Linked DNA regions of Homo sapiens: region 1 is linked to region 2. The links are contacts of gene promoters, found by promoter capture Hi-C in blood cells and fetal thymus (Javierre and others, 2016). All regions are on one chromosome and are shown on one strand. The core of a region is centred on a gene start or on the middle of the fragment in contact, and the rest is flanking DNA. Distances in the headings are between cores, read along the strand shown.

Region 1 (6,393 bases), core at 3,167-5,666, 1.2 Mb before region 2:
TGAGACTTTGCATTGGAACTCAGTGCTGCCCTGTTGCAGAAAGCAATGGGAGAACTCAGCCAGTGCCGATGGAGAGAGTATTTAGATAAACCCTAGAGAAAGGGGAATTGCCCATCCCAGTGGTTGGAATCTGAGTTCTGGCAGGCCTAGCCACTGTGGGCTAAAATACCTTGAGTCCTAAATGAACCTGAAAGGCAGTCTAGGTCATGGGGACCACCATTCCTGGGCAACTCCTGACACTGTGCTAGGCTCAGAACCACTGGACTTGGAGAGCACATAACCTAATGATACACCAGCTGAGGCAGCCAAGGGAGTGCTTGTGTCACCCCTCCTCCCAACCCCAGGCGGTGTAGCTTGTAGCTCCAGGAAGAACTCCTTCCTTCTGCTTTGGGAGAGGAGAGGGAAGAGTAAAGAGGACTTTGTCTTGCAACTTGGATACCAATTCAGCCATAGTAACATGGGCACTAGGCAGTTCTGAGGATCCCATTCCAGGCCCTAGCTCCCAGGTGACATTTCTAGACACACTCTGGGCCAGAATGGAACCTACTGTCTTAAAGGGAAGGACTCAGTCCTGGCAGGATTCATCACCTACAGATTAAAGAGCCCTTGGGCCCTGAATAATCAGCAGTGGTAGCCAGGCACTACTTACCATGGGCCTTGGGTGACACTCAGAGATATGCTGGCTTCAGGTGTGACCCGTTCATTCCTAGCTGTACTGGATACAGGGAGACTCCTTCTGCTTCATAAAAGAAAAGGGAAGAGTAAAGGGGACTTTATCTTTCAGCTTAGATACCAACTCGGCCACAGTGGGGGTAGAGCAATAAGCCGGCTTTGGGGGTCCCTGATTCCAGGCCTTGGCTCTTGGATGGCATTTCTAGACCTGTCCTGGAACAGAGGGAAGCCCACTGCCTTGAAGAGAGTGTCCCAAGCCTGGCAGCATTTACCACAAGCTGAGTGGAGAGCCTTTGAGGCCTTGAGTGAACATTGGCATTAGCCAGGCAGTACTCTTCATGTGCCTGGGACAGTGGTGGCCACGCGGAGAGAATCCTCTGCTTATGGAAAGGGGAGGGAAGAATGGGAAGGACTTTGTATTATGGCTTGGGTGCCAGCTCAACTACAATAGAATAGAGCACCAGGTAAATTCCTAAGGTTTCTGATGCCAGATGCTGGATCCTGGATGGCATCTTTGGACCTGCTTAGGGCCAGGGGAACTTGTCACCCTTAAGGGAAGGACACAAGCTTGGCTGGCTTTGCCACATGCTGATTTTTTGTGCCCTATAGCCTTAAATGAACATGAACATAGGCAGTAACAAGGCAGTGGTTACCACAGGCCTTGGGCAAGACCCAGTGATATGTGGGCTTCAGGTCTGACCCAGAACAGTCTCAGTGGTGGTAGCCAGAGGGGTACCTGTGTTACCCCTCTCCCAGCTCCAGGCAGCCCAGCACAGAGAGAGAGAGACTTCATTTGTTTGGGAGAAAGTAAGGAAAAAGAATAAGAGTCCCTGTTTGGTAATCCAGAGAATTCTGGATCTTATCCAAGATCATCAAGGCAGTACCTCTATGAGTCTTCAAGAGGCGCAGCATTACTGGTCTTGGGGTGCACCCTAATGCAGATATGGCTGCAGTGACCAAAAACCAATTAAAACACTCAAGTCTCTTCAAATACCTGGGAAGTCTTCACAAGAAGGATGGGTACAAACAAGTCCAGACAATGAAGACTACAATAAATACCTAACTCTTCAATGTCCAGACACTGATGAACATCCACAAGCATCAAGACCATCCAGGAAAACATGACCTCGCCTAATGAACTAAATGAAGCACCAGGGACCAATCCTGCAGAGACAGAGATATGTAACATTTTAGACAGAGAATTCAAAATAGCTGTTTTGAGGAAACTCAATGAAATTCAAGATAACACAGAGAAGGAATTGAAGGTTCTCTCAGATAAAATTATCAAAGAGATTGAAATAATTAAAATGAATCAAGCAGAAATTCTGGAGTTGAAAAATGCAACTGACATACGGAAGAATGCATCGGGGTCTCTTAACAAGAGACTTAATCTTTCAGAAGAAAGAATTAGTGAGCTCGGAGATAGCCTATTTGACAATATACAGTCAGAGGAAGCAAACTAAAAGAAAAAGAGAGACAACCCAAATAATTAAAATCAGAGATTTTGAAGGAATACTTCCTAACTCATTCTACCAGGCCAGTATTACTGTGATACCAAAACCAGATTAAGACACATCAGAGAAAACTACAGGCCAATATATCTGATGAACATTAATGCAAAAATCCTTAGCAAAATACTAGCAAACCAAAACCAACAACACATTAAAAAGGTCACTCATCATGGCCAAGTAGAATTTATTCCAGGGATGCAAAGATGCTTCAACATACACAAATCAATCAATGTGACACATCATATCAACAGAATGAAGGACAAAAATCATATAGTCACTTCAATTGATGCTGAAAAAGCATTTGATAATATTCAGCATCCTTTCATGATAAAAATCCTAAAAAATCTGGGTAGAGAAGAAACATATCTCAACACAATAAAAGTCATATAAAACAGACCCACAACTAGTATCATACTGAATGGGGAAAAACTGAAAGACTTTCTTCTAAGATCTGTAGGAAGACAAGAACGCTCACTTTCACCTCTGTTATTCAACATTGCACTGGACGTCCTAGCTGGAGCAATTAGACAAGAGAAAGAAATAAAGAACATTCAAATTGGAAAGGAAGAAGACAAATTATCCTTGTTTGTAGATAATATAATCTTATATTTGGAAAAACCCAAAGACTCCACAAGAAAACTCAGCACTGATAAATTCAGTAAAGTTGCAGGATACAAAATCTACATCTAAAAATGAGTAGCAGTTCTATATGTCAACACCAAGCAAGCTGAAAAAGAAATTAAGAAAGTAATCCCATTCACAATACCTACAAATACTGTAAAATGCCTAGGAATTAACCAAAGAAGTGAAAGATCTCTACAATGAAAAATGTAAAATATTGATTGAAGAAATCAAAGAGGACACAAAAAAATGGAAAGATATTCCATGTTTATGGATTTGGAGAATCAATATTGTTAAAATATCCACACTACCCAAAGCAATCTACAGATTCATCACAATCCTGATCAAACTACCAGTAACATTCTTCACCGAAATAGAAAAAATAATCTTAAAATTTATATAGAATCACAAAAGACCCAGAATAGCCAAAGCTAGCTTGAGCAAAAAGAACAAAACTGTAGGAATCGTATTACCTGACTTCAAATTATACTACAGAGCTGTAGTAACCAAAACAGCATGGTATTGGCATAAAGATAGACACATAGACCAATGGAACAGAATAGATAACCCAGAAACAAATACATACATCTACAATCGACTCATTTTCAACAAAGTTGCCAAGAACGTACACTGGGGGAAAGGACGGTGTCTTCAATAAATGGTGCTGGGAAAGCCAGATATCCATATACATAAGAATGAAACTAGACTTCTATCTCTCACCATATACAAAAATCAAATCAAAATGTACTAAAGACTTAAATATAAGACCTGAAATTATGACACCATGGAAAGAAAACATTAGAGAAACTCTCTAGCACTGGACTGGGCAAAGATTGCTTGTGTAATATCCACAATCATAGACAACCAAAGCAACAAATGGACAAATGAGATCTCTTCAAGTTAAAAAGCTTCTGCACAGCAAACAATCAACAAAATGAAGAGGCAACCCACAGAACTGAAGAAAATATTTGCAAACTACTCATCTAACAATGGATTGATAACCAGAATATATAAGGAGCTCGAACAACACTGTAGGAAAAAATATAATAATCAAATTAAAAATAGACAAAATATATGAATAGACGTTTCTCAAAACAAGGCATTCAAATGGCAAAGAGGTATATGTAAAGTTGCTCAACATCGCTAATTATCAGAGAAATGCAAATCAAAACTACAATGAGATATCATCTTACCCCAGTTAAAATGGCCTTTTTCCAAAAGACCGGCAATAACACTTGCTGGTGAAGATGTGGAGAAAAGGGAACCCTTATAAACTGATGGTGGGAATGTAAATTAGTGCAGCCACTAGGGAGAACAGTTTGGAGATTCCTCAGAAAACTAAAAATAGAGCTACCATATGATCCAGCAATCCCACTGCTAGGTATATACCCAAAGGAAAGGAAATCAGTGTATCAAAGGGATATCTGCATTCTCATTTTGTTGCAGCACTATTCACAATAGCCAAGATTTGGAGGCATCCTAAGTGTCTATCAACAGATGAATGACTAAAGAAAAAGTGGTACATACACACAATGGAGTACTATTCAGCCATAAAAAAGAATAAGATCCTGTCATTAGCAACAACATGGATGGAACTAAGGTCATTATGTTAAGTGATACAAACCAGGCAAAGAAAGACAAACTTTGCATGTTCTCACTTATTTGTGGAAGCTAAAAATTAAAGCAATTGAACTCATGGAAATAGAGAGTAAAAGGTAGGTTACAAGAGGTTGAGAAGGCTAGTGGGAAGGGTAATGGGGATGGTTAATGAGTGCAAAAATATAGCTAGAATGAGTAAGATATAGTATTTAATAGCACGACGGGGTGACTACAGTCAACAATCATTTATTGGACATGTAAAAATAACTAAAAGAATATAATTAGATTGTAACACAAAAAATAAATGCCTGTATTATTTGCCTATATCAAAATATCTCATGTAACCCATGAGATACATACATACACACATATACCTGTAGTATGAACCCACACACACACAAAAGATTTCTTCAGCTTAGTTATTCATTCCCCCATCTGTCTTTTCTGCTGCTCCCTGTCTGTTTTTCTAGGATTATCAACTAGTCAGGTATCAGCAGGCTTCACAGGAGGTTTGGGAAGAGGCATGATGGAAAAACCTTTGCCCATACGGCAGCCAGGTCAAGTGTTCAGGTCATGAAACACAGAAAGGGACACCTCAGTTCCTGGGGTCTGTAAGAAAGTGGAAAAGGGAGCAGGGAGTTGTCCTGGCCTGTGGTTCATGTGTGGGGCTATGTCATTCCCTGAGGTCTCAGACCTAAAGGATTAAGTGAAGCTTTCCAGTACAGGAAGTGGAGGAGTTGCAGGAGGTGGCCATAGGTCATGTGCAAAGCCGGTTTTCCACCACCCTAACCCCAAATCCTGTTGGATTTCCACCACGTGCCAGGCTCTTTACACACTTGATGTCTTTTATTCCCCTCAACAACTGTGAGTTGAGAAAATATTATCTCACTTTATGGACGTCAAGGTAAGATAAGTGAAGTGATTTTACCAGGTAAGTAGTAGAGCTTGGTTTTGAACCCAGTAATCTCAGGTGAGGCTTTCCTCTCCTGTTATTGAATTAAATTCAAATAATATTCTTTTTATAATAAGTTTTACTCTAACTTGGTCTTTTGTAACTTCAAGGAAGTTGCCTGCAATTATTCTGTTTTTTTTTTTTTTTAAGTTTCTCTCTTTGAATATTTGATTGAACCAAATTTAAAATTTGCCAGCAGGTGGCGACACAAAACCAATAATTCAGGATACCAATCTCGGCGCTTTCCAGAGGACGGAATGGGACTTGCCACTGTGTCCTTCGCAGGTTGGGTGTCTGGCTTCATTTTGTGATTTCTGGGCTACTAGGCCCTCCACTTCTGCTCCCTGGGGGCTCATTCCGGTTTCTTAAAGTCCTCAGGACAAAGTCCCTACACCCTAGCCCTGTCTCACTTCCTGCCACTAATCTTCTCAGGTGACTTAATTCCCCTCTCCTCTCCACACTCTCCCACACACCCATTGCTTTGTCCCTGCTGGCCCCTCTGCCTGGACAACCCCTTATCCACTCCCCCATCTGGCTATTCTTTTTCATCCTTGGGGACTCAGCTAAAAGGTCACCTATGAGGAGCCCACCCTGCCACTGCCCCCCTGCCAGGCTGTGTGGGGCCCTTTCTCTGTGTGTGTCCCTGTTAGAGCACTGGTGGTCCTGGGGTCCTACTCTTTTTTGCTTGACTGCCTTCCTACTAGACATTCCCCTTGAGGGCAGGGACTGTGTCCTTTCTGTGTTAGGCCATTTTTGCATTGCTATAAAGAAATGCCTGAGGCTTGGTAATTAATTAATTAATTAATTTATTTTTAACTTTTCTTTTAAGTTCAGGGGTACATGTTACATACGTAAGTGGGTGTCATGGGGGTTTGTTGTACAGATTATTTTATCACCCATGTATTCAGCCTAGTACCCATTAGTTATTTTTCCTGATTTTCTCCCTCCTCCCACCTTCCACCTTCCGATAGGTCCCAGTGTGTGTTGTTCTCTTCTACGTGTCCAAGTTTTCTCATCATTTAGCTCCCACTTATAAGT
Region 2 (6,090 bases), core at 2,929-5,428:
CAGATTACATAATACAGCTCAGCCATTTCATTTTATTTTTCTGTGTTCTAACAATTTTTTTCAGTTTGAGAGGAACCTAACCAAGATTAGTTGAAAGTCTGCATTCTAGAATATTTTTATCTGTATGTGTACTGAATATATTTTTCATTTGCTCAATTCAATGCATTCATTCATTCAACAGATATTTATTGAATATCAGGTGCTAGGCACTGTTGTGGGTGTGAGGACATATCAGGGAACAAAATGTATAAAGATTCAGCCACTCTTGGGCCCTACACTTCTGCGAGGGAGACAGATAATGAGCAAAATATCCTCCAATGATAGGTAGTAAGTACTACAAAAGGGGTTGTATGGGAGTATTTTTGTTTGTTAAGTGGAGCTGTCTACTAGAAAGCTAATGAATTGGGAAAGTTATCCTAAGAGTGGGCGGTGTGTTATTTAGGTCAATGAGGACAGCAGCACCATGGTTCTAGGTGCAAATAGGCCCAGTGTGTCCAAGGAACAGCAACAGAGTCAAGGAAACCAGAGATGAGAATGGCTGACAGCTGGAGCACTTGTCAGGGCAGATCCTTGAGGGCCTTGCACACCAGGGGGAGGACTTGAGATTTTACCCTAATTGTGGTGGAAGCCACTGGAAACTTTTGAGCAGAGGAGTGTTATAAACTGATTCACGTTTTAAAAGGATAATTTTAGCTCAATAGTAAGTATAGCCATGAAGCCAAATTGACAAAGTGAAGGTTTTCTAGTGAGGACCTGCTTTGATGCTTGTATAAGAAAGATCTGGCATGAGCACTATCTGTTCACTGTTTGTAAGAAAACACCTGGCCGGGCACGGTGGCTCATGCCTGTAATCCCAGCACTTTAGGAGGCCAAGGCGGGTGGATCACCTGAGGTCAGGACCAGCCTGGCCAACATGGTGAAACCTTGTCTCTTCTAAAAATACAAACATTAGCTGGGCGTGGTGGCGAGCGCTTGTAATCCCAGCTACTTGGGAAGCTGAGGCAGGAAAATCACTTGAACCTGGGAGGCGGAGGTTGCACGCCACTGCCCTCCAGCCTGGGCTACAAAAGTGAAATTTCATCTCAAAGAAAAGAAAAGAAAATGCCCATCTGCTGAAGTAGTTGCAGTGACTGAAAAGTTTGCCCTCTTTGGTCATTTGAAAAGTCCACCAGTCTCCCTTTTACATTTTACTTTTACCCACTCAAAGCTTGCTTTTCCTCAGCGACAGGTCAGAAGTCAAGGTTAGAATAGGTTCATCCAAATACAGAGGCTGCCCCAGTCTACGGCCTCATCACAATCCATCCACAAGCAAGCTTTCCAGAATGGCCTCAGGTCCATCCCAGGACTGTGACTCTCAGCCATCTGCACATTGCTTACTGCCCAAAGAGTTCCTCCTGAAACTTCATCAGCACACTGTTAAGTGATAGAAGGAAACTGCAGAATAGTGTTATACTGTAGCCAGATCTCATTTTAGTAATGACATTTTTATGCCTAGAAATAATGTTTTAAATGTTCAAAAATATGAGCTAAGTGGTCAGTTCCAGCTTTTTTCCCTGTAGAGACCTGTCTCCTGCAGCCTTGGGTGGGATGATTCCAAGGCATGCTCTTCACACAGTTTTCTAGGGTTTTCCCCTAGGATTAAGCCCTAAACATCTATTATAGTAGCTGGCTTAATCTTTTATTGAGCTCCCCTTTTCTTCCCTGTATTGCTTCTTCATTACTCTGCTGGTGTTCCATGTACCTCTCAAATAACTACTTGCATTAATTCTTACCTCAGGATCTGGTTCTGAGGCACTCAAGCTGAGACATCCTCTATGTAAAATCTTCCTCCTTCCTGAGGTGGCATTAGGTGGCCACCTTCCTTGAGCCATAATGGCAGATAGGATCCAGGAGAAATGAAACTTACCAATAAAGGAGAGATCTGAAAATATTATTCCCATTATACCCATAATCCAGTAGTCTTTTTGTGAGCTTAAGCAAATACAAGACTTGCATTTAGGTATTCCTCCTTCTAAAAAATTAGGAGGTAGTTGCCTCTCCAAAATGGATTTCTCAGCCATTGCGTCTTCACCGCTTAGGTTAGGTAAAGCTTGGCTATTATATGAGGTTCTTACCTTCCAGCACAAGGGGACGCTACTTTTTTAAAAAAATATTTTTATTTCCATAGGTTATTAGGGAACTGGTGGTATTTGGTTACATGAGTAAGTTCCTTAGAGGAGATTTGTAAGATTTTGGTATACCCATCACCCGAGCAGTATACACTGAACCCAATTTGTAGTCTTTTATCTCTCACTCCCTTCCCATTCTTCCCCTCTGAGTCCCCAAAGTCCACTGTGTCATTCTTATGTCTTTGCATCCTCATAGCATAGCTCCCACTTATGAGAATATACCATGTTTGGTTTTCCATTCCCGAGTTACTTCACTTAGAATAACACTCTCCAATCTCATCCAGTTGCTGTGAATGCCATTAATTCATTCCTTTTTTCTTGCCTAGGAAACCAGGCTTCCTCCTAGACCAAGCTTTAGTCTTCACTACCTCAGGCAGAGAAAGCTTCCCTTGCATGAGGAAGTCATTGCCCAGCCTCTTCTCTGCTCTCTGTGTGCAGCTTCTCCCTCCCTGGCCTAGGGCCCTGACCCAGAATGACTCTTCAGCCCACGATTTTAATCGAAGGCCTCTAATCAACCTGTGGTACTACATGCTACACAAGATTCTCAGAAATCCCTAAGCTTTCTCATGAGCCTCCCACCCTGCTGGGAAATAAGCTGACTTATCAATTAAAGAATATCCAAAGATGTTAAGCCACTTAATCCTCCCCAAAACTCAGTGCGGTAGGGGTTGTTACCTCCCATTATACGAAAGGAAAGTGAGGCTTGGGAAGTAAAGAGACTTGTCCAAGATCACCTTCTGGAGCCACATTTTACACCACAGGTAAGAGAAAAGGGATCCGAGAGGGCACGGACACTGTGTCTTCAGACTGAGTGGGGAAGTACCATTTACCTGGGTACTTATTGGGTGCAAGTTGCATGCCCCCGGTGCTAATACACAAGGGACAAATTTATGGGCCTCCTAAAACTGTGGACAGTGCACCCGTCCAGCCAACTTCATGGGTGCACCGTGAGGCTCTGGTGATGTGGACAGGCTTATAAAACACTCTCCATACTAAGATGAGGTTGTGTTCCTGTGTCTAGGAAACGCTGGAAATTAAGTGTACAGCAATCAAAAAACCTTGACATCATCCTTGATGTCTCTCTTTTTCGCACACTCCAATTCACTCCATTAGGAAACTGTATTGGCAGAATCTAGTGAATCTTGTCCTTCAAGGCCTCTCTCTGCAAGGCTCCCATGAGCCCTGGGGGCTTATGGAGAGTTCTGGGTGGGCAGAGGAAGCCAGACTGCGTTAGGGAAGCAAATTTGGGACCTAAATTTCCTAAGAAGGTTTTAGGGGATAGGGACCCCAATCTCTAAGACCCCAGGATTCTGTTAAGATTTATTTTCTCATTCCAAATAAATGTTCACTGGCAAGCCCTAATTCTGTCTTCTCTTTCTTAAGCAGCCCTCCCTTCCTTCTCCCCACACAACTGTGTATGCTTCAGGCCCCAGAAATCCTTCCCTGCTTTGAGGTCTGGCGTTTACCAGGGCAGGGCTTGAGAATAGAGGTGTAAATTTGTCAGAAGGAAACAGGGGCCGCGCAGTAAGAGAGTAGATCCTCATATAACATGGCAGAAAGTCAATGGATAAATCAAGAAATCGCTATGTAAGTTTCTTTTTTTATTTTTTTATTTTATTTATTTATTTTTTTTTTGCGACAAGCGGGTGACCACTAGAAGAAATTAACGGAGGAATTGTTAAAAAGAGCTGTGATGGGAGGGAGAAGTGGCCTGTTGCTTTCATTATAAGCAAATCTAGATAATTTTATTTTCTAATAAGTAAGTGGGCGTTACTTTCATGTATTTTTTTAAAAGAAAATTAAATAAAAATACAAAACAAACAGAATACAAAACAGGAGAATAAAAAAGCAAACACGCACGCAACACAAAAGAGCCTTGGCGGTTGGGAGCCAGCGGGCGGGGGCGGGGGCAGGGGAGAGGGCGGGGCTTAGGACCCTGGGCGGGGCCAGGGCCGGGTCTCCTTAGGGCCCGCCCCAGCGAAGGGGCGGGGCGCAGATCTGTTTCCCTCAGACTCCATCTGCCCGGGGCCGCTAAGGGAGCGCAAGGTCAAGTTCGCCTTGGCCCCGCCTCCAGCTCAGGTACTAGGGGATCTAGACCTGAGGCTGCCCGGGCCGGAGGCAGCCTTGAGTCCCGAGACCAAACGTCGTTTCCCTCTCGGACCTCGGGCGCCGGGCCGCGCGCTGACCGACAGCCCCTGCTAGGCCCAGCAGGTCCCCTAGTCCCCCGCAGTCCCCCGAGACTCGCCGAGCGCCGTTGCTGAGCCCTGCAAATAGCAGGTAAGCGCAGCGTGGGCCCCTCGTCAGCCCACTAGGACCTGGATCGCGGCTGAATGCCCGGGCCCACGTGACTCCTGGCCCCTAACTGAGTCCTGGGAGTCCCCGCTGGGGCGACAGGTGGCGGCGGAGTGCGGAGCCATCCGGGGTGGCGCGAACCGGGGGGACAGCTCCGCGCTGCCTCTGCGCGCCGGCGGTTCTCGCTGCAGCGTGTCAACCTAACCCCCAGCTCCCCTTTGGCTATGACCAGAGTCCCGGAGACGTGGGTTCGGATCCCACCTTTAGCACTCGTGCACTCAAAGGTTAAAAATATAAGCACAGTGTCTAACAAATACTTAACGTGTTCCACTCAGTGTCCGCTGCTGGGCTAAGTGCTGGGGTTACAGTAGCAGGCCAAAAAATGTGGTGCCCTCCCCCGTGCAGCTCACAGTCCAGTGGGGGGAGACCGACAGCAAATGGATATCTATGCAAACAAGTGTGAACGTTAAAACTGTGGTCAGAGCTATGAAGATTGAAATTCTAGGGTGCTGGAGAGATTTTATCAGGGCCCCCAGCTACAAAGGCTGCTGGAACTAAAACTTTAGAGAATTCCCGGGCGGGGAACAACAGAGCAAACTCATTTTGTTGGGAGAGAATGTGGCTTGAGGAAAGGAGGGTTGGTGGGGCTGGCCTGCAGAGAGCTGGGGGGAAAGCAAGTTCCTTAACCTTAACGTTCTCCTCTGTAAAATGGGATTGTTCTACCCATTGAGAATGGAAATGGTGAATGTAAATGACTTAGCACTGCGTGATGGGTGCTGGATGTTACTCTGCACTAAACATCCAAGGCTTGATGTTGTTCTGGACTAAACACAGTGTGCCTGCCTCTCAGCAAAGTCACTTCCCCTCTCCTTGAGTCCTGTTTCTTCCTCTATCAAATAAGTGGTTCTGAGTAGAATCTCTCAAACAGCCTGTTCTCTAAAATGATGACTGGTTTAGTTGTTCATTCTTGAAACATTTAACTGGCGCCCACTTTACCCTGGCTCTGAGGATTCAGAGAGAAATCAGACAGGGGCCCTGCCCTCCTGGAGCCCATGTCCGGTGGGCCAGGTGAAATAAAGTGACAGTTCCACCCTGGCACAACCCAGAGAAAGGGTTCTTACCCACTGGCCTTGCAGGGGAAAGCTTCTCTGTTTTTCTCAGAAAGCCACCCAGGAGCCCCTGAAGGTATGGTTCACACAGCTCCACTGAGCATCAGTTACTTCTTGAATTTCATTGGTGGTTCTCAGCTTTTGGTGTCACCTCTTAAAACTGGACAGAAGACTTCCCAGAAGCAGCAACTATGCTGGGACCTTGCTAAGGACGTGTCAGACCTTGAGACCCCATGGATTTGGGAGAGCATTTTAGGTTTCAGGAAACATCTGTCAGCTGCTCACTGTATTTTATTGGCTCAAATGATCCCAATTTCTTATTTGGCTCTGTTCACAACATTGTTGTAGACAAAGAAAGTGCTCCATGAAAACCAACTGAGAGGCCCAGAGAGTAGGGGAACCCAGATGAGGCAGGAGTCTGGCACCATTTGTGGGGAGTGGTAAAAAAGAACAGGTATGATGTTAACAGAGGGTGTTGGAGGGAAGAGGAGAGAGAGCAGCCATTGTGCAGCCTCTCTTTT

The links. The method cuts DNA at HindIII sites, captures the fragments that hold promoters and counts their contacts. A CHiCAGO score of 5 or more calls a contact.
Region 1: a fragment that was not itself captured here is called in contact with the fragment with the promoter of NMNAT3 in region 2 in 2 of 17 cell types (total B cells and M2 macrophages); the score reaches 6.4 in total B cells.

Annotation. Positions count from the first base shown.
Region 1 is chr3:140,863,071-140,869,463 of GRCh38, reverse strand. No RefSeq gene overlaps it. Among named protein-coding and RNA genes, the nearest start is that of SLC25A36, 76 kb to the left of the region's middle. RefSeq lists an enhancer at 5,557-5,606. The HindIII fragment of the contact is 1,403 bases long and covers 3,715-5,117 here.
Region 2 is chr3:139,676,060-139,682,149 of GRCh38, reverse strand. It overlaps NMNAT3 (nicotinamide nucleotide adenylyltransferase 3), which reads left to right and starts at 4,178. Exons shown (of 7, transcript NM_001401600.1): 1 at 4,178-4,445. RefSeq lists a silencer at 4,075-4,124. The HindIII fragment of the contact is 2,876 bases long and covers 2,730-5,605 here.